Linked DNA regions of Homo sapiens: region 2 is linked to region 1. The links are contacts of gene promoters, found by promoter capture Hi-C in human tissues and cell types (Jung and others, 2019). All regions are on one chromosome and are shown on one strand. Each heading gives the region's core, a stretch centred on a gene start or on the middle of the fragment in contact. The rest is flanking DNA. Distances are from core to core; before and after follow the strand shown. Region 1 holds the start of ZNF799 (zinc finger protein 799). Region 2 has its middle 12 kb from the start of ZNF20.

Region 1 (3,734 bases), core at 818-3,317:
AGGTAGACTAAGAAAAAAACAGAAAGGCCCAAATAAATAAAATTAGAGATGAAAAAGGAGACATTACAGTTGATACTGCAGAAATTCAAAGGATCATTAATGCAACTAAGAACAACTATATGCCAATAAATTGGAAAACCTAGAAGAAATTGATAAATTCCTAGGCAGATAGAACATAGCAACATTGAACCATGAAGAAATAAAAAACCTGAACAGACCAATAACAAATAATGAGATCAAAGCCATAATAAAAAGTCTGCTAGCAAAGAAAACCCCAGAACCCAGTGGCTTCACTGCTGAATTCTACTAACATTTAAAAAAGAACTAATACCAATCCTACTCAAACTATTCCAAAACAGAGGAGAAGGCAATACTTCCAAACTTATTTTACAAAGCCAATATTACTTTGACACCAAAACCAGACAAAGACATGTCAGAAAAAGAAAACTATAGGCCAGTGTCACTGATGAATATTGATGCAAAAATCCTCAACTCAATACTAGCAAACTGAATTTAACAATACACCAAAAAGATCATTCATCATGACCAAGTGGGCTTTATCCCTGGGATGCAAGGATGGTTCAATATATGCAAATCAATCAATGTGATGTATCATTTCAACAGAATAAAGGGCAAACACCATATAATCATTTCAATGTGCACTGAAAAAGCTTTTGATAATATTTAACATCCCTTCATGATAAAAACCCTAAAAAAAAACTGGGTATAGAAGCAGCTACCTTAACATAATAAAAGCCATATATGGCAGACCCACAGCTAGCATGATAATGAATGAGGAAAAACTGAAAGCCTTTCCTGTAAGATCTGGAACACAATAAGAATGCCCACTTTTACCACTGTTGTTCAGCACAGTACTCGAAGTCCCAGCTAGAGCAATAAGTCCAAAAAAAAAAAAAAAAAGAAATAAAGGGCATCTATATTGGGAAGGAAAGGAAGAAGTCAAATTATCCTGGTTTGCATATAATATGATCTTATATCTGGAAATACCTAAAGACTCCACCAAAAAAGTATTAGAACTGAGAAATAAATTCAGTAAAGTTGCAGGATACAATATTAACATACAAAAATCAGTAACATTTTTATATGCCAACAGTGAACAATCTGAAGCTACTTGAGAGGCTGAGGTGGGAGGATTGCTTGAGCTTGGGAGGTAGAGGTTGCAGTGAGCCATGATGGCCCCACTGCACTCCAGCCTAGGCAACAGAGCAAGACCCCATCTCAAACAACCAAAAACGTGTAGAAGGATGGTTACCACAGGCTGGGAAAAGTAGTAGCGAGGAGTAGTTATGGGGGAAGTGGGGATGGTTAATAGGTATAAAAAATAGTTACAAAGAATGAATAAGACCTAGTATTTGCTAGCACAACAGAGTGACTATAGTAAAAAATAATTTAATTGTACATTGAAATATTTTGAAAAATTTCATTGAAAAAGAGTATAATTGGAGCCAGGCGCGATGGCTCACGTCTCTAATCCCAGAACTTTGGGAGGCCAAGGTGGGCGGATCACGAGGTCAGGAGTTCGAGACCAGCCTGGCCAACATGGTGAAACCCGGCCTCTACTAAAACATACAAAAATTAGCCGGGTGTGGTGGCGCGCACCTGTAATCCCAGCTACTCGGGAGGCTGAGGCAGAATTGTTTGAACCCACCTAGGAGGCGGAGGTCGCAGTGAGCCTCGCACCATTGCACTCTAGCCTGAGCCACGGAGCAAGACTCCCTCTCTCTCTCTCTCTCTCTCTCTCTCTCTCGGAAAAAAAAAAAAAAAAAAAAAAAAAAGTATAATTGTTTTGTCAGTCAGTGTACAGGAGGAAGAAGCAGGAGGTCCTATTGAGTACAGGCAGGAAATTCCGCTTAAGTGCAAATATCCCTCGGGAGGATTCAGATCAAAGAGCAGGGAGGAAGCCCGCCCTGCCAAGGGCTGTGTCAGGAACTTGCTCATCTGGCTCCACTCAGCTGTGCAAGATCGCTTCTTCTGTCAATCAGTCCACGAGGGGCGGCACCTGACGCCGTATCCAGTAAGGGCCGTGGGGCGGGTTCGTGGGAACTGTCAATCAGGCGCGCTTCCCAGAGGAGTGTGTGGTTGAAAAAGCCCGCGGCGTCTTCTCCACCCACCTGCGCTGGGCGCTCGGTGCTCGGCTCTGTAGCTAAGAGACGACCTGGAAGTTCCGTGGCAGCCTGTGTCCCGCGGGAACCCGCATTGGCAGCGGGAGCCGTCCGGAGGACCTGGGACACCGCGGAAGTCGGGAAATGGTGCGTGTGCTGGGCCGGCGTCCCGAGGCGGGGGAGGGGCTGGGTGGAACCTGCAGTAATCGGCTGTGGCTGGACCCGGGCCTCCCCAAGGGCTACTCCGGGATCTACGGACCCGGGTTCCCCTGGCGTAGGTCGGCCCTCGGCCGCAGGGTGGGGCTGGGCATGCAGCCGGGACCCCGGGCGTCCTGTCCCGTTCCTGCGCGGCGACTGCGGCCCCGGCGCCCTCTCTGGGCAGCTCCGCGCCCGCAGCCTCGCGTCTCCCGAGATTGTGCGGCTGTAAGCAACACAGGTTCGCGGCCCGACTCACTGCACCGAGACGCTGAGGGCTGCAGCAGAAACAGTTTAATAGCCAGAGAGGGGAGGACACCCCAGATCCGCCTCCCTGAGGGATTTGGGGTCTGGACGGGGGCGGCTGGGTGTAGGGTCGTTGGTTGGTGGGGAAGTGAGGGGTGAATCCTGGGACAGGAGGTGAAGAAACCGCATTCTGCTGAATGGGCTCCCTCGTTGGGACTTCAACCTGATTGGCGCCAGCCTTTGCTGGGATTCAGGATCTGAGAACTCCGGCGACTCTTGAGCAGTTCTCAGAGATCTTATCCCCAGGCACAATGGGGAAGCCGGCGGTCAGCGTCTGCTGTGACCTGACTCTCAGGGAGGCGGCCCCTTGAGGCAGCGGGGCTGAGGGCACCTGGTTAATATCTAACTGCAATCTCGCCTCCAGCCTGGCTCGCAGTTCCTGTGAACCCGGTGAGGAGGCTGCACGGTGACGACGAGTCACCAGGTGGAATCCAGACTCGTGTGTGGGGTTTGTGTGTGGGAGGAGCTGTGGTCTCCGTGGTCCTCAGTCCCTTCTTTCTTTCCAAGGGCGACCGTTTCCCCTCTGAGTCTTCCAAAGATGTGGTTAGCAGGGTCTCAAATCCACCACTGTGTTCTCTCATCCTGACTCCTCCTAGGGCTGGCAGCAAATCTCTTGGTTTCCAGAGACTTCCCCAGGCTAACCTTCTGTCCTTAATTCACAGCAACGGTATGAACTGTTTGGCCCCCAGGCGATATTTCACTAGTTTGTCATCTTGTTTTCAGCTAGCAATGTATGGCTTTTTCTTGAAAGAATTATTTTGGGTTCCTGAACACGGTGGGTCATTCCTGTAATTCCAGCACCTTGGGAGGCTAAGGCAGAGGTATTGCTTAATCTTAGTAGTTCCAGACCAGCCTGGGCAACATGGCAAGACCTTGTCTCTAGTATAAATGATAATAATAAAATTAGCTGGGCTTGGTAGCTGGCACCTGTAGTCGCAGCTACTCCTGAGGCTGAGGTGGGATGATGGCTGGAGCCCAGGAGTTTGAAGTTGCAGTGAGCTATGATCGTGCCTCTGCATCCCAGCCTAGGCAACAGAGGCCGACCCTGTCTCAAAAAAAAAAAAAAAAAAGGGTGTCCACAGCTGCCAAGTCTCTTGGAGGGTCTAGTGA
Region 2 (3,734 bases), core at 541-3,040, 270 kb after region 1:
ACCGCAACCTCTGCCTCCTGGGGTCAAGTGATTCTCCTGCCTCAGCCTCCCAAGTAGCTGGAATTACAGGCACCTGCCACCATGCCTGGCTATTTTTTTGTATTTTTAGTAGACAGGGTTTCACCATGTTGGCCAGGCTGGTCTCAAACTCCTGACCTCATGTGATCCACCTGCCTCGGCCTCCCAAAGTGCCAGGATTACAGGTGTGAGCCACCATGCCTGGCCAAAAATTCCTTTTTTTTTTTTTGAGATGGAGTCTTGCTCTGTTGCCCAGGCTGGAGGGCAGTGGCGCGATCTCGGCTCACTGCAAGCCTCCGCCTCCCTGGTTCACGCCATTCTCCTGCCTCAGCTTCCCGAGTAGCTGGGACTACAGGTGCCCGCCACCACGCCTGGCTATTTTTTTGTATTTTTTTTTTTAGTAGAGACAGGGTTTCACCATGTTAGCCAGGATGGTCTCGATCTCCTGGCCTCGTGATCCGCCCACCTCGGCCTCCCAAAGTGCTGGGATTATAAGTGTGAGCCACCACGCCTGGCCCAAAAATTCTTATTTTGACTATTCATGTCTTATTTTTGCACTTTTTCACAAAGCAAGGTCAAAAAGCAAAGGAAAAATCCTTTAAGATCAATGTACTTAGGTTGAAAATGTGTTTTTTCTCAGGAAAAACTTGTAATTTATATAATTACAATCCTCAGTTTATTTGCAGCATCACCAAATTTTCTTACATATTTCAAATGTGAACTTAAGATATATATTTTTCTCATTATTTACATTTTGCTTCCTACCTATGGCTTTTTTTTTTTTTTTTTTGAGACAGAGTGTCGCTCTGTTGCCTAGGCTGAATTGCAGTGGCACGATCTCAGCTCACTGCAACCTCTGCTTCCCAGGTTCAAGCAAGTCTCGTCACAACCTCCCAAGTAGCTGGCACTACAGGCGAACACCACCATGCCCAGTTAATTTTTGTGTTTTTTGTAGAATTGGAGTTTCACCATGTTGGCCAGACTGGTCTCTAAACTCCTGGCCTCAAGCGATCCATCTGCCTCGGCCTCCCAAAGTGCTGGGATTATAGGCATGAGCCAACATGCCTGGCTCCTCTAGACCTTTTAAATCTTTTACTCATGATATTGGTCAGCCCACGGTCAAAATAATTCATAAAAGGTATATACAAAAATTCAACACCACAATGAAAGTTAAATTCATTTGTTTAGAACCACTCAAGCAACTCAGGTGTACACAGATAGACCTGTGGCAACTGGTGAACAATTAAATGGCACAGAAGTGGCTGGGTGCAGTGGCTCATGCCTGTAATCCCGGCACTTTGGGAGGCCGAGGCGGGCGGATCATGAAGTCAGGAGATTGAGACCATTCTGGCCAACATGGTGAAACCTGTCTCTACTAAAATACAAAAAATTAGCCGGGCGTGGTGGCGGGCTCCTATAGTCCCAGCTACTCAGGAGGCTGAGGCAGAGGAATCCCTTGAACCCGGGAGGCAGAGACTGCAGTGAGCTGAGATCGTGCCACTGCACTTCAGCCTGGCAAAAGAGCAAGACTCTGTCTCAAAATAAATAAATGGCACGGAAGTTGCAATAATGACCTCTGCTGTGCAGTACTCTCTTGGCAGAGATACACAAGAACTCCAATAAGGCCCTCATATGATATGCAGAACTGCCTCAAACATCATGTGACCATAGAACTTTGCCAAGGACAGTCTTTTTGTACATCTCTGCACCTGGCTTACCCAAAGATTGGACTGGGCGCATTTCTCAAGCCATTGTCTACTGAACGTTCTTTGTAGCGTGTGGGGCAATGACGATTGCCTAGGTGTAATTTCCTAATCGCTGGGGTAGGTCTGGTTTCTGAGGGCCCAGCAGAGGAACTCAGTTCACAAAAATGGCTTCCTGTAGTTTCTGCTTGATACTTCCTATTCTGCCATCTTCCCAGAATCCTCTTTCCTGACTTCATATACTAACACGTCATTTCAGATCTCACTACAGATGTCACCACCTCAAGACACTGTCTTCTTTTCCGCCCCCCTTACCCCAACTTGAAACTCAAGGTCACACTCTCTCACCCATTACTCCTATTTCATTTAGTGTGTAGAATTTTTTCAACACACTTGTCAGAATCTGGAACATAACGTTCACAGGGTTGATTGCTCTCTGTTTAACAAGGTAAAAAGTTAAGTCATGTAGGCTGGGTGCGGTGGCTCACGCCTGTTATCCCAGCACTTTGGGAGGCCAAGGTAGACAGATCACGAGGTCAGGAGATCGAGACCATCCTGGCTAACATGGTGAAACCCTGTCTCTACTAAAAATACAAAAAATTAGCCGGGCGTGGTGGCGGGCGCCCGTAGTCCCAGCTACTCAGGAGGCTGAGGCAGGAGAATGGCATGAACCTGGGAGGCAGAGCTTGCATTGAGCCAAGATTGTGCCACTGCACTCCAGCCTGGGTGACAGAGCAAGACGCTGTCTCAAAAAAAAAAAAAAAAAAGTCATGTAAATTTAAGTGTCACCTTTCTTTTCTTTTCTTTTTTTTTTTGAACCTTTTCACCAACTGTTACACACTTTTTTTTTTTTTGAGACAGAGTCTCGCTCTGTCGCCAGGCTTGAGTGCAGTGGTGCGATCTCAGCTCACTGCAACCTTCACCTGCTGGGTTCAAGCAATTCTCCTGCCTCAGCCTCCCGAGTAGCTGGGATTACAGGCACGCACTACCACACCTGGTTAATTTTTGTATTTGTATTTGTATTACAGATGTGAGCCACCGCGCCTGGCTTACACCCTATATTAAAAAGTATTTCAGGGGCCAGGCACGGCGGCTTATGCCTATAATCCCAGCACTTTGGGAGGCCAAGGCGGGCGGATCACTTGAGGTCAGGAGTTCTAGACCAGCCTGGCCAACATAGTGAAACCCTGTCTCTACTAAAAGTACAAAAATTAGCCGGCTGGGGTGGTGGCCACCTGTAATCCCAGCTACTCGGGAGGCTGAAGCAGGAGAATCACTTGAACCTGGGAGGCAGAGGTTGCAGTGAGCTGAGACTGCAACACTGCACTCCAGCCTGGGCAACAGAGCAAGACCTTGTCTCTAAAATAACATAACATAACATAACATAACATAACATAACATAACATAACATAACATAACAACATAACATAACATAAATACAGTAGAGTAGAGTAGAGTAGAATTTCCAACAAAGTCCTTTGAACCATTTTCCAGAAAGGCAACGTCAATGAAGCTCCCTCTTGTGGTAAGGGCGGCATTAACATCCACACACTGTTGTGACTGGATTTCTCAAAATTGCACAGGGATCTAAGAGTGGAAAAACTCAAAATGTTTTTCCTGTGCATTCACACAATGCAATATCTCTATGACCAAATATGTGGAAGATTTTCTCACACAGCAAACAAGCCATCCATTCTCCACTGAACACCACCTGAGTGTCCTCTAATTCACGTGTCCCCAACTCTCGGGTACAGACGGGTACCTGTCCATGGCCTGTTAGGAACTAGGCCACACAGCGGGAGGTAAGCAGAAGCGAGTGAGCGTTACTGCCTAAGCTCTGCCTCCTGTCAGAGCAGCAGTGGTATTAGATTTTCTTGGGTTGATAACCCTATTGTGAACTGCACATGTGAGAGATCTAGGTTGCATGCTCCTTATGAGAAACTAATCCCTGATGAGCTGAGGTGAAACAGTTTCATCCAAAAACCATCTCCCCACCCTCCTCTGTGAAAAACT

What was found. The method cuts DNA at HindIII sites, captures the fragments that hold promoters and counts their contacts. A contact is called where the count stands out against the background at its distance.
Region 2: a contact is called between a fragment that was not itself captured here and the fragment with the promoter of ZNF799 in region 1, in 5 of the 25 tissues and cell types used here (bladder, heart left ventricle, liver and 2 more).

Annotation. Positions count from the first base shown.
Region 1 is chr19:12,399,604-12,403,337 of GRCh38, reverse strand. ZNF799 (zinc finger protein 799) reads left to right here and starts at 2,067. Exons shown (of 4, transcript NM_001080821.3): 1 at 2,067-2,270. The coding sequence starts at 2,268. RefSeq lists enhancers at 1,913-1,962, 2,683-2,772 and a silencer at 2,293-2,452. The HindIII fragment of the contact is 18,323 bases long and covers 1-3,734 here.
Region 2 is chr19:12,126,420-12,130,153 of GRCh38, reverse strand. No RefSeq gene overlaps it. Among named protein-coding and RNA genes, the nearest start is that of ZNF20, 12 kb to the left of the region's middle. The HindIII fragment of the contact is 9,523 bases long and covers 1-3,734 here.